Linked DNA regions of Homo sapiens: region 1 is linked to region 2. The links are contacts of gene promoters, found by promoter capture Hi-C in blood cells and fetal thymus (Javierre and others, 2016). All regions are on one chromosome and are shown on one strand. Each heading gives the region's core, a stretch centred on a gene start or on the middle of the fragment in contact. The rest is flanking DNA. Distances are from core to core; before and after follow the strand shown. Region 1 overlaps FLJ46875 (a long non-coding RNA gene). Region 2 holds the start of NABP1 (nucleic acid binding protein 1).

Region 1 (6,340 bases), core at 1,963-4,462, about 35 Mb after region 2:
AGGGACTTCCTGGGATGCGGAGATCGGCTCTGAACCATCCCCTTTCTGCTGCCCGGAGCTGGGGAAGCTCGCTGTGGAGCGTCTCGCACGTGGCAGGCAGGCAGAGAACTTGCTGCACCTTCTAGGAAATTGCAATCGATTTGTAATGCACTTTCGCTAATTGGGAGTTCAAAATTAAACTTTAATAAAGCATTCGTGTCGTCTCGTCTAATTGTGAAAGCTTCCATCCGTCCTGGTAGATAGACTCTAAGTCTCAAGTTAATGGCGCTAAGCTAGATTTTCCCCCCAAGTACAATTCCGTCAGCCGTCGTCGGCGCAGCTGGATTTCCGTAAGGTACAGATGTTGCTAATGACAGCTTAAGCACGGATGGGCAGATAGCATACGGAATGCAACATGTTGCCATATGGTTCCTTTAGCCTTTCACCTCCAGGGATATCAATCACATATATTCTGGGAGGAACTTAATGACTCTCTGAACAGCAAAATGAATTACCTGGTACAATTTATATCCCTTGACCTGATACGTTATAACAACAGGAAGATAGCATCTCGCAATTTCTGTGGTATAAATTGAACTACAGAGCTACATTTAAAATTCTACATCTATTTGTAGTTTAAGGGGCCCTGTCATATTCTGGCTGTAAAATCTGTTTCTGTATTGCCCATCTCCTTCCCCCTCCTACCTCTGGAGGAAGCAAAATTTATAAAGTTTAGCAAAACTGGTGTCGGAAATTGCCAGTCAACTGATTAATAGATGAAGTATGGAGAAATGGAAAATATGACTTCCAGAGCTACTTACTTCAACAAGAATTAGCCATCTTTAGGAACACCATACTTTTAAGCGTACAAAATTAAAGAACTCCAGAAAATGTATTTTCTGCTAGTTGTTTCAGTATAGCTCCTAAATCTATTCATTAACTATTTGAAATTCTCCATTTATTTTCAAACTTCAACCATTCCTACACTTTGGAAATTACAGAAGACAGTTCTCAGAAATATGAAATACAGGAAATGTAAGTAGCACCTCCTCAGCGAACCAGTTTCTGTACCCACAACCCCATGCACTCACTATTTATGTAGCTTAATTTGAATCATGTACATGGTGGTACTGGTAGTTTGCTTTTTCCTCCCAACATGTCAGTGACAGCATACTTAAGTTGCTGCTTCTCTCCTAGTGGAGTGATTCTGCAATATTTCACAGGTCTCATTTTTAAATATCCTGGTGACTAATAAAATGTTTTAATTGATTGCCTTTAATTTCAGATTATAAACGTGGTTGTCTTACTGTATCCTTTATTTTCTATTCACTAATACAGATAGATCACACGGGAAGACAATACTTTAAGGGCAAAAAGTAAAATAACTTACTAGAATTTCTAAACTTTATGTTTACTTTTACCTACTAAGGGATATCTGAAAGGTAGAGACATACTTTTAAAACTTTTTGCTTCTGGCACTATGTAAACATTAATTCATGTAAACTAATGACTAGCAGAATGCCTAAGATAGACATGAACAGTCTGAAAAAGTATTTACTTTCAGTCATGTCAAGTTTCGGAAAGTGTTAACATTTTGAAAGTTTGTCTATATATCATGTCCTTTCATAATTATTGTGAAATTATAAGACGATGCTTCTCCTTTTTTTTTTCCTTTGTAGTGGCTGATTTGTTACCTAGTGCTTTAGTTCGATAATTTTGATAATTATTATCAAATAAGATCCTTTGTGTGTGTATATAGGAGAAAATCTTATACAGAACACATTAAGATATACATAAGTTATGGCAATCTTGTCTTCTGGGGCTGTTTTTTAAATCTTTTAATGGCTGAGGTTTTATTTCTCTTTGTAGCACCAGCACTCGATGTGTCTTAAATGTGATCAGTAGTGATGGTGAGCTTGTCAATAATGACTCCATCTCCATGACTTGTGAATAGGCGGTGAGTGTGTCCTTTAATCAGTCACACAGAACTTGCTTTATAAAGCTGTTATTGTCATGAACAGATATTGCAGTCTTGTCAGGCCCAGTGATTATTAAAGTGTTCCTTCTTCAAAAGCCAGGCCGAAAGTCCTGCTGTGCTTCATTTCACAATTGAAGTCCATTAGTAAATAAAATCCCAAGCCGCACGATTTGCTGTTCCTCAAGTTATAGGCTTACATATATTTCATTAATAATCTTGGGCCCTTTTGTAGACATAAGTAGGTATATTTTTGGTATATATATATGGCAACAAAAATAAAATATGTATCTTGCAGCATGACTTTTATTTTAAATGAAGATTTGATGGATGTCCATTGTTACTCTAAATGAGGTGGCTGGCTGCCAAGGGAAACCCTACAGTCAGAAAGTACTAGAATTGTTACTATCTACAGGGAATCACTTTCTATTTTTTGAGTTCTCAACTTCACCTCCTCCTTTCAATAGTGCCCCTCCATATTGCTAATCTGAGAATTAGTCTGAATATGAAAACTTTTGAAAATATGTTTGTGTTGTCCAAGAAAAATTTCACCAGTGTTTCTGGTTGCCTGCTGGTTTTCAGCCTTTATCTTGAGTGGGCATGTTTATTCTAACTGAATGAAGAATGACTATTGAATTAGGTATATTCCCCATGCCAAATAATTTTAACTGTGATGTAATCCTAGCCGCTTTCTTATTTTTACTCCCGAATAAATTTAAAATATTTAAGATTGGCCAGGTGTCTGTTTTTCTCAGGGTAACATGGGACAGCTATGGATAGGCATTAGGCCTCTCATAGAACTCTTCATTCAAGTGAGTGTGGCTGAGAGGAACAACCAGGAAAGAGTATAGTGCCCCATTGCACTTGCCCTGTTGGCTTTTCAAATGCAAAATCCACGTTGTTGCATTTGGAAACTTGTTTCTCTGTTTTATGGTATTTCATTTAAGAATTTTTTTTAACTGCCAGTCTGTAAATATTTAACCAGCCAAGCAGGAAACAGCCTTTTATTCTCGACTGTATACAGCTTTTGTTTTTATCTGGGTTAGCATGGGTGCCATGTAAATACCATATAAAATTTGACTTTGGTTGTCCTTACTTTGAAGATTGACAGGGGTTTCTTTAATTAATCTTGTTTCCTTTCATGTTCTGTATTGAGATATTGAAATACAGTATTTTATACATTTATAGGATTGTGTTTGCATTTATTTAATTTATGTTTCTTTTTTTGAAGCATGTAGCCTTGAATGTTTGTTCTACCCTTTTTTTTTTTTTCACATCATTACTCTGGTGCTGCTTGATGTAACTTGATTAGCTCCCTCCCCAGTCATGATTGGTAATTAAAATAGGCATTAAAATTAGTCACTTAGCAATTTTGCTGTTCAATTGGCAATTAAATTACTTAATTGCAATTAAAGTCCTAATTTTAATTGGCAAAATGATAGATGTAGATTTAAGATAATATGTATAAATACTTTAATAAGTGTCTATATAAGGATTACTTAATTACTCAACTTCAAGTTTATGCTGTTAACTTTAGAACTTTTAAGTGAGCAATGAAATTTATATTACATCTATTCAAAGGATATGGTAATTAGATTTATTACTTATCACTATAAGGGTCCTTGCTTTAAGTTACTTTTGTAGTGTTAAAATTGTAGGCTTGATAATTGCAGAATTCTGATGAGAAAAAGGGCATATATGTCTCTGTTGCAATATTATCAATACCTTCATTTTTAAAATTAAATTGAGACATTCCATCCACCAATTAGTCTGAGGAAAAAATCAAAAGTGGTTATTTTATCATTAAAGATAGAACAAAAACTAGCCAGCTTGTGATTTACATATAAAAACTTGCAAAATGTATGTATTTTATCTAAATTTAAATAAATGCTATCTAATACTGGTAGTGTTATAATGCTATTAACTACTTTTAGAATTTGCAGATATTTGATGTTTTCTTAGCATGTAGCAACTTATTTTCATAATCTTTAAACTGTCTTTTAGGACTTTGTACATTTTAGTGATGCCTATGTTTACTAAAATTAGCAATGAAATCTAAAACCAAAGTTATTCTTCTTTGCCTAATAAAAAATAGTTCTTAAATAAGAAAATATTAAGTGGTTAATTTAAAAGCAAGTATTTAGGAGATGGTTACTGGGTGTCAAGTATTAACAAAAAATGAAGGATTTTTATTATGCAAAATACTTTTTGAGTGGCATGAGGTTTTACCATATGTTCAGTTTTATAATTTCAATTTACAAGAAGATGCTTCCAGAAAAAAGAATGCTGTTTTTTTTCTGCACATCTTTACACATTTCTAGTACTGAGTTCTGTATCAAAGAAAGAAATAATTTTAAAAGTATTTGTGTTAAGTGGTTTTTGGTAAAAATCGGCTGAGAAATACTGAATAAAAGCTACAACTATCCAAAATGTGAATATTAACAAAGCAATTGACTTGTTCTTTAACCATCCTATGAGAAAGGAACAAACAATTTGGTCAATTACTATCCTGTCAATGCAAATGAAATGGCAAAAGCAAAACAATAAAAACACTTTCAGAAGTAAAAACTAATTTTGTATTTTCAGAAACAGATTTTTTTCAAAGTGAAAATTTATTTCTTGTATCAGTAATGTGACTTACTGCCCAATGGCAACAAATGCTGTGAATGAGTTTGTCCAAATGTAATTTAAAATATATATCTTGTAATGCTAAAAATAGGTTCTACAAAGTAATTTTATTATGAAAAATCTTAAAGTTGCCTCAACTCGTAAAGCATAACAGGTATGTCTGTTTCACTATATCTGCATTGTAAGGTCTATTCTGAATTCATTTGGGAAGAATGGTGAAATAAATCCCTAAAGGCCTCTTTCCTATGCATTAAAATAGAAAATCCTATGGGATTACATTCATGTTTGCTTTCTAAATTATGCCAAAAGCTCAATTTTATTAAGTATAATCTGCCTAGCCATGCATAAAATAAACTACTTTGGTTTAGATGTGAGTATATGTATTATTTATGTTGATTTTTAATGAAAATATGTTTACATGTACCAATATGTTCTGCCTAATATTGGTTAATGTCATAAAAGATAATATAGTAACATTACTTTCCTAAATGTTTTTCTGTGGTCATCCAATAGTGTTTCTTAATAGTAATGCTTTTTAATTTATTTTAGTTGGTTTCAAAAGAGGATAGGTGCAATTTTTACTCCCACTCATTTTAAAAACTGTTAAGAAAATAGACCTTCATTGTGGGGTAACTTTACACATTTATACATGGCAATAGTTTAAAGTTATATCGGCTGCGGGGGCCTGAAAAAGCCATTATTGTCATTTTAATTGAGTTATAAAATACTTTATTTGAACTATTTATGTTCAAGAATCTTGAAGGGTTACAGTCATATAAATGCAGAATTTCAGTTTCTTTTAGCCTAAAGCATCGTTTTAACATTTTCTGAAAGGTTGTTCAATTCTACATTTTGATTCCATATGTGTAATTAAATCTCTATGCACAAAAGCATTCTCTTATGTACTAGCAAATATACCCACAGGAATCTCCTTCTAAACTATAATTTATTTAACATGTAATCATAGGATTTTAAAACATGCTTTCATTTTTCCAAACTGTATGCCAATTTGAACTTCTTGGTGATAAAATGAGAGATTTTATTACCAGTTTGATTTTTTCCTTCTGTGACCTAACAGTGAGTTAAGCATGAGCAGGAGGAAATAAAGAAAATCTTTTGTGAACCTAATCCCATGTGTTAAAACTGTTTCCCTTTTGGAGAAAATAGAAGAGAATCAAAGATTTTTAGTTATTTATGAATTCCAGCACAATATGAATATTTGGGCCTGCAGCATTCTCTTTGGTTTAGCTTAGGTAGTAAATAGCTTGTGTGTGTGTGTGTGTGTGTGTGTGTGTGTGTGTGTGTGTGTGTGTGTGAGTGATTCTCTTGAACGTTGTGGAGTCAGGCCCCCTACTGACTGGATCAGTCAATTACACACACATTGGCGGTGCTACTGAGACATCGTCCCATCAGAATCTGGTGAGGAAAACTAGTCTGGGGTTTTGAGCGTGGCCTTTTTTTTTTTTTTAAACACTTCTGATCTATATGCTGAATCCTTTCCAACCCATCTCATCCGGGCCTTACAGAAACCCTAGCCTAAGAAGTAGCTTATTCAAAATTGGTTTAAACGAGTTTAACAGTCTTACATCCGGCGTGTCTTCCTAAGAAACAGTAAAAGCTTCCCAGAAACCAGAATAGGACTTTGAAGAGGAGAGAACTCTTACACAGATGATGGAATAGATGAGAAAGGTCTCCCCTTTCTCTCATTTTAATTTATATTTAATTTTATATTTAATTATATTCCCAGTTAATAATAAT
Region 2 (6,666 bases), core at 102-2,601:
GAGAATCTCTTGAACCCGCGAGGCGGAGGCTGCAGTGAGGAGAGATCACGCCACTGCACTCCAGCTTGGCGACAGAGCGAGACTCGGTCCCAAAAAATAATAATAATTAAAAATCTACTTAACCTGTAAACCGGGGTAGAGGCGCGGATTTCCCAGCTGAAACCGACTGCCTTTCACTGCAAAGGTCTGTTACATCCCAGCGCTGCCCACCACCCAAAGTTAACACCAAAGGAGTTCAAAACTCCTCAAGAGTGGCCCACAGAAAAGGCGGGGGACTTCAGGGCTTGCCAAGATCCCAGGAGCCGGCCAATCCCGATTCTGCAGACTGTTAGGTCCCCCGACTTTTTTGCACACCTACCCTCTGGTCAACCGAATAATATCCCCTGGCTGTATAAGACCTCCGATCTCATCCCACACGGAAATAGTGATGCTGCCCGTTTTATCTGCTACTTTGCACGATCTCACTTCATGGCCGTCTTTGGTTTTGGTCACGCGTCCTGTGAGGATTTAAAAATCAAAGGGAGGGGTTGTTAGATAATGAGGACATCCAGAAAGGCTAACTCCTCCTCCGGTATTTTAATACATCTGGAAGGTGGGAAGTGACCAAGCCCAGGGCTCCCGCCTCAGGTAGGATCCGATCTCGGGCGGAGGCCACTAGAGCCACGTGGGTGGGGGAGGGGAGGGAGGAGGAGGGGAGCCCCGGGCGCGCAGCGGCCGGCGCCCCTGTCTCCCGCCCCGGGAGGCACAGCGGGCGGTGGAGTAGGCTGCAAACCCCACTTACCTATCTCCAGGACAATAAAGACGACATTTAAGTTTTTCAGTCCGGGCTTAATATCTCTTATAAAAATAAGTGGGTCGTTGACCCTATTCATATTGGGACAGGCGCGGCTACGGCTGCGGAGACGCGAGTGGGCAGGGCGGGGTCAAAGCTTCCCACCCTCCCGGGACAGGGGCGAAGGCAGAGGGGCGACCTTGGGCAGGGGTGGCGAGAGAAGGGGCAGAAAGCCGTTAGTCAGGGACCGGGCAAACCAGCCCGGACAGCACTGAGCCTAAAAAAAGAAAAAAAAAAAAAAAAAAAAAAAAGGCTCACAAGTTCTAAAGAAAAAAAGGCGAACCACTCCGCACACCAACCCCGCTCCCAACCGGGCGACAGGAAGGCAAGCGTACTAACTGCCCCGTTCTTTGGATAAAAGGAAAAAAAAACGCAGTGAGGGGACACTTCTGCCCTGAGTCCCGCTCACTCACACGGGCGCGCGCCCAGCCTGTCCCGGGCTCCGGGAAGGAACGGGCTGTGACAGCGAAACGGGAGCGGAGACAGAACACCGCACACCCAGCGTCCCAAACAGCGACTGATGAACACGCCCGCGCGCCGGCAGGACCCTCGGCCCGCCCCTCCCCTTGTGAAGTCACGCTGCGTCGGCACGCCTGCTGCCACGCCCGCCTGGTGCTGGGGAGGGGAAGCAAAGGGGCGGGACCCGGCCGCCGCAGCCCGCAGAGCTTCCCTCGCTCCTCCCCGGGGGCTGTCAGCGCGGGCTCCGCCCCCTCGTCCTTCCAATCGCTCTCGGCCCCGCCTCCCCCGCCCTCCCGTTCTCCACCCACTTCAGCTGTCGCCGCGCAGCAGCAGTTCTGTTCGGTTTCGCCTTCCTGCTGTGCAGTCTTTTGACGCTTGCTGTCCAACTTTGGAGTTTTCTTGCCTTTTTTTCTCTCAGAGTTGAGCCCCTGCCCGGGCCCTTTAGTCCCTCGGTCACGAGGAACGGTAGAGTTTAGAACCTGTGAGTACGTTAGAAAGTTCGCAGTCGAGGAAGAACAGGGTTCGGGCAAGGGCAGCTGGTCCGGTACCAAGGGAAAACAGGCTGGGATGGTGAAGGCGTCAGTGGCTACAAGGCTGGAAGTTTAGCACCAGAAGGGAATTTGGAGATCAATTCAACCGCCTCATTTCAGGCATACTTAAATTGAAACCCAGAAAGATGAGGTAATTTGCAGAAGGTCACCCAGCAACCCCTGAGCAGGCAGGACTGCAACACAAATGTCTGACGTGGGCTTCCACTGTGTAATGCTAAGCAGATAGGACGTAAATTCCTTTGCAGACTTCTCATTTTTCCTTACCCCCTGCCTCTCATATTACACACCTTCCCCATTTAGCTTTTCTTCTTTTACTTTGCACTTGCTTTTGTACATCTAAAAGGAATTAATTATTCAACAGCAGTGGGAACCCTTGAAACATAATCTGGAAAAAAAGATTAATAAAGTTTTTTTTATGTCGCGTAGTGAAAAGAGCATGTGCTTTAGAGACAAACCTGGGCTCCAGCTATTTACTTGTGAGAGCTTTAGGTCAATTGGCTTTTATTACAGCTTTTTAACCATAATAAAATGGGGATCCCTGCCTAGCAGAAGATTGATTAAATGGATCATAAATTGTCCAACTAGTGCCTAGCAAATAGTACATACTCAGTATTTTCCCCTTTTTAATCCCCGTTTTACAGGCGATGGAACTCACCAGAGACCAGATAGCTAGAGAATGGCTGAGCTGGGTTTTAAATCTAGTCAATCTTGACCCCAGAGCTCTCCAGCCTAAAGGTAATGTTTAGACTTAACTTCCAGTGGTGTCATTATAAGAGTCAAAAACAGACTGAAGAAATAAAATAGCAGAATAAAGTAGTGGGGCATTAAAGAATCATCTAGTTAATTCTTGGTGATGATAACAGAAATGTTGGGAAAAGTGTCAGAAGCCTTAATTTTCTCCCCATTCTTTCTGAGTATCTTTAGATCAACCACCACTTCCCAAGTATTTGCAAACAAGCAGCATAGATATTATAGCCCTAGAAAGAGTTGGAAACATTATCACAACATTAGCAAGAGAGTCAAGGCATTTTTAAGGAAACAGAAGCTTCCATTTCATGAACTAATAAAGCCCAAGGTGCCAAAGACACTGATGTCATACTGGAAAGTGGTGTAAAATAAAATTATAAGCATAATTTCAACATCAAATAAAACAAATGATGAAACATGCCAGTTAATGGCAGAGCCAGCGTCCAACCTCAATCCCAATCCAGCTCAGAAGCTCTAATTCTACCATGGTTATCTGGCAGGACTTGACACTTCAATTGGATTGTACTCAAAGCTGTATTTTCTTAAACAGGCAAAATATTCTCACAGAAGCAATATTTAAGGCAGAGCTCTTTTTTTTTTTTTTTAAGGTTTGACAAGATCTTCAAAAGATTAAGAATAGACAGGAAACCAATTAAGAATGTTAAGAGTTACGGCCAAGAGTTTGGGCAAAGAAAGTTTGCCACTCAACTCTCAATCATTTGCCCCCAGAAAAGGGATTAGGTTGGGCTGTTCAGGCTAATTATATGAACATTTTATAAAAAGAAATCAGACACAGAAAATCAAGCCCCACAAAAGCAGAAGCTGGTACTCCAAGCTGTGGCTCAGCCCTTCCCTTCCCCCACAGGACAGAACTCAGCTGAACATCTACTTCCTTCCCTACTAACTCAGCAGTTCTCAGAAAGGAAATGGCAACCATATGCTTTCTCATTAACCAAAACGAAAGGCAGCCTTGAGAAACAAGATGGTCTGGGCAATACAGAAACTGTTCAGCCCAGGCTAGTTGGTTTCAGCTACCTCTAAATCACTCCCAAAGATGTGGTTAATAAAAAGAAAAAGGAGATGTCAAGGAGACAATTATTGCTAGGCAGATATCTTTTCTTATATTACCATTCAGTGAAATAGATCTGCCACTCAGTCTACTCATTTAGGTCATAATGATTATATTGCTGATTCTTTAATACATACACAAGATTACTTCATGGTCTTCTTTTCTCTAAGGCTGTTGTTCTTCAAGCCTTCATTTTTCACAGCCTAAACATAAGCTTACTCTGAGATGATGGACTCTTCCACTTTACATCCAGAACCTCAACACCATGTTTTAGTGTAAAGATGCTTAGTGAGATCCACTGTAATACAGAAGGGCATCCATTAGAATCCTGGACATAGAAGGTTCTGTTATCTGGGTCCTCATTGATAAAGGTTTTGTTGTAAATTTTACCCAGCACTCAGTACCCATGCTCACTCCCAGGTTTTGGTTTCTGGAATTACCAAAATTATTTTCACTTTGTTTTCACTATCCATCTATTTAAAACTATTACAACATCAATGAAACAGTTGTTTGTACCAAGTACTGTTTGATTTTAAATATCTTGTATAGTGAAACTTAACAATTTAAAAAATTAACAAGAACCACAGTGTGCTCACTCACCTTACAGGTATAATCCACTTTGTAACATAATTGGCAACTAAAAAAACAAAAAAAAAAAACTCAAACAAATAGTATTTTCTTAATTTCCCTAAAACAATTTAACCAAAAGACTCAGAAGTAATGTTTAGTAATGATTGCAGCAACAGCCACACAAATCATCCCTATAGTGATAAATGCAAATACACTGAGCACTTGCTATGGGCCAGGCATTTTACACTTATAAGCACTTTACACTATTTTGGGTTTTGTTTTTGTATTGGAGACAAGGTCTCACTCTGTCACCCACCCGGGCTGGATGCAGTGGCTGCACCATAGCTCACTGTAATCTGGAACTCCTCTGCTAAAGTGATCCTCCAGGTTCAGCCTCCCAAGTAGCTGGGACTACAGGTGTGCACCACCACGCCTTAGCTAATTGTTTTATTTTGTGTAGAGATGGAATCACACTGTGTTGCTCAGGCTGGTCTCAAACTCCTGAGCTCATGCGATCCTCCCGTCTCAGTCACCCAAAGTGCTGGGATTACAGGCATGAGCCACCAGACATGGTCTGATTTACACTTTTTGATGTGTTACTTATGTGAAGTGATTGATCTCATTTTATAGTAAGTTATGAAGCTTGCATTTCAAAATAACTGCCTGTTACATGTAATAACTTTTTCTACAAAAAAAGGTTATTTGCCCCAAAAAGTGCATGTCTTTGTTTATCTAAATGGGTAATTGCATTTTTCGAAGGCTTTGTAATTCACAGTGATAAGTGCAGTTAATATGTTATCTGATCCCCCAAATCTGATTGCGTGGGGATAGTGAAATCTACTTGTGAGGAATGACCCTGTAGTTTCCCTTGGGAAAAAATGCATCCCTAAATGGGTTAATTCAACTCAGCTACATTATCTTTTTTATTATTATTATTATTATTTTAGACAGGGTCTTGTCATCCAGGCTGGAATGCAGAGGTGCAATCACAATTCACTACAGCCTCGATTTCCCAGGCTCAAGCAGTCCTCCTGCCTCAGCCTCCCATATAGCTGAGACTGCAGGCACATGCCACCACACCTGGCTGATTATTTTTATTTTTTAGTAGAGACCAGGTCTCACCGTGTTGCCCAGGCTGGTCTCAAACTCCTGGGCTCAAGCAATCCTCCTGCCTTGGACTCCCAACGTTCTGGTATTACAGGCATGAGCCACTGTGCCCAGCATCTTTTTAATGATATTTAATGATAGAGTGAACAACTTTGGCTTCTGTGTTCTAAAAAGCTTTTCAAATGTATCATACCTCAAATAGGTACCTGGATTTATTGTTTATTCAGATTAAGAAAATATTATTAGCAAATGAACTAATTGAAGACTGATGGGACAACATACGGTGCCAAAATGCTTCAAAAAGAGTTGCTTGCTACTGTTTTCTGATGTTTCCCCATGTCCTATGTATAAAATGAATAAATAAATAACAGTTTTTAAAAATCCAGCTGGCCCAGTTGCAGAGCCCTGTTCCTTAACAGGCCCTACAAGGAGTATGTGACAGTATGTATAGGAGACTAATATCATGCCTGACATGTTGGAGTAGAAGGCTTGGTGTCTCTTTCTAGAATTCTGATTTACTATTGTGGTTTCTCTATAATAAAGATGGATGCCTTTTCTTATTTTGGAGCATTATCAAGCTCACATACATGCACACAAACATACGCCAGTAAATCACCAGGAAGAAAGAGTAAATGCTTTCAAACAAACCCCTAATTAAGAGTATTACCCATAGGAGCACAGCATATCCCAGTGGGAAGGATGCTTACAGGTAATGTACGCTAACCCTTTCACATTGTGTATGAAAAAAATACAAGCCCAGAGATGTTAACAAGATTACCACCTAGAGCCCCTAATGAACTAATGGATCTCAGTAACTTCACCAAAGGCTGCTAATATCACAAAAAGAGAGACAACCAGTCCAAAACAATTAAATCAATATCTCCCAAGGTAGGACTCAGTCATCAACATATTTTATTTTATTTTATTTTATATATATATATATATATTTTTTTTTTATTATACTTTAAGTTCTAGGGTACATGTGCACAACATGCAGATTAGTTATATGTATACATGTGCCATGTTGGTGTGCTGCACCCATTAACTCGTCATTTACATTAGGTATACCTCCTACTGCTATCCCTCCCCACTCCCCCAACCCCACAACAGGCCCTGATGTGTGATGTCCCCCTTCCTGTGTCCAAGTGTCCTCATTGTTCAGTTCCCACCCATGAGTGAGAACATGCGGTTTGTTTTTTTGTCCTTGCAATAGTTTGCTGAGAATGATGGTTTCCAGCTTCACCCATGTCCCTACAAAGGACATGAACTCATCTTTTTTTATGGCTGCATAGTATTCCATGGTGTATATGTGCCACATTTTCTCAATCCAG

Evidence for each region. The method cuts DNA at HindIII sites, captures the fragments that hold promoters and counts their contacts. A CHiCAGO score of 5 or more calls a contact.
Region 1: a fragment that was not itself captured here is called in contact with the fragment with the promoter of NABP1 in region 2 in 1 of 17 cell types (fetal thymus); the score reaches 6.9 in fetal thymus.

Annotation. Positions count from the first base shown.
Region 1 is chr2:156,335,307-156,341,646 of GRCh38, reverse strand. FLJ46875 (a long non-coding RNA gene) reads left to right here. Exons shown (of 1, transcript NR_147695.1): 1 at 1-5,075. Among named protein-coding and RNA genes, the nearest start is that of FLJ46875, 3.6 kb to the left of the region's middle. RefSeq lists enhancers at 1-66, 67-622, 6,323-6,340. The HindIII fragment of the contact is 5,980 bases long and covers 223-6,202 here.
Region 2 is chr2:191,672,821-191,679,486 of GRCh38, reverse strand. NABP1 (nucleic acid binding protein 1) reads right to left here and starts at 1,351. Exons shown (of 6, transcript NM_001031716.5): 1 at 782-1,351; 2 at 359-497. The coding sequence starts at 872. RefSeq lists enhancers at 1-180, 1,008-1,510, 1,720-1,799, 3,393-3,502 and silencers at 650-709, 1,310-1,659, 3,450-3,744. The HindIII fragment of the contact is 1,958 bases long and covers 932-2,889 here.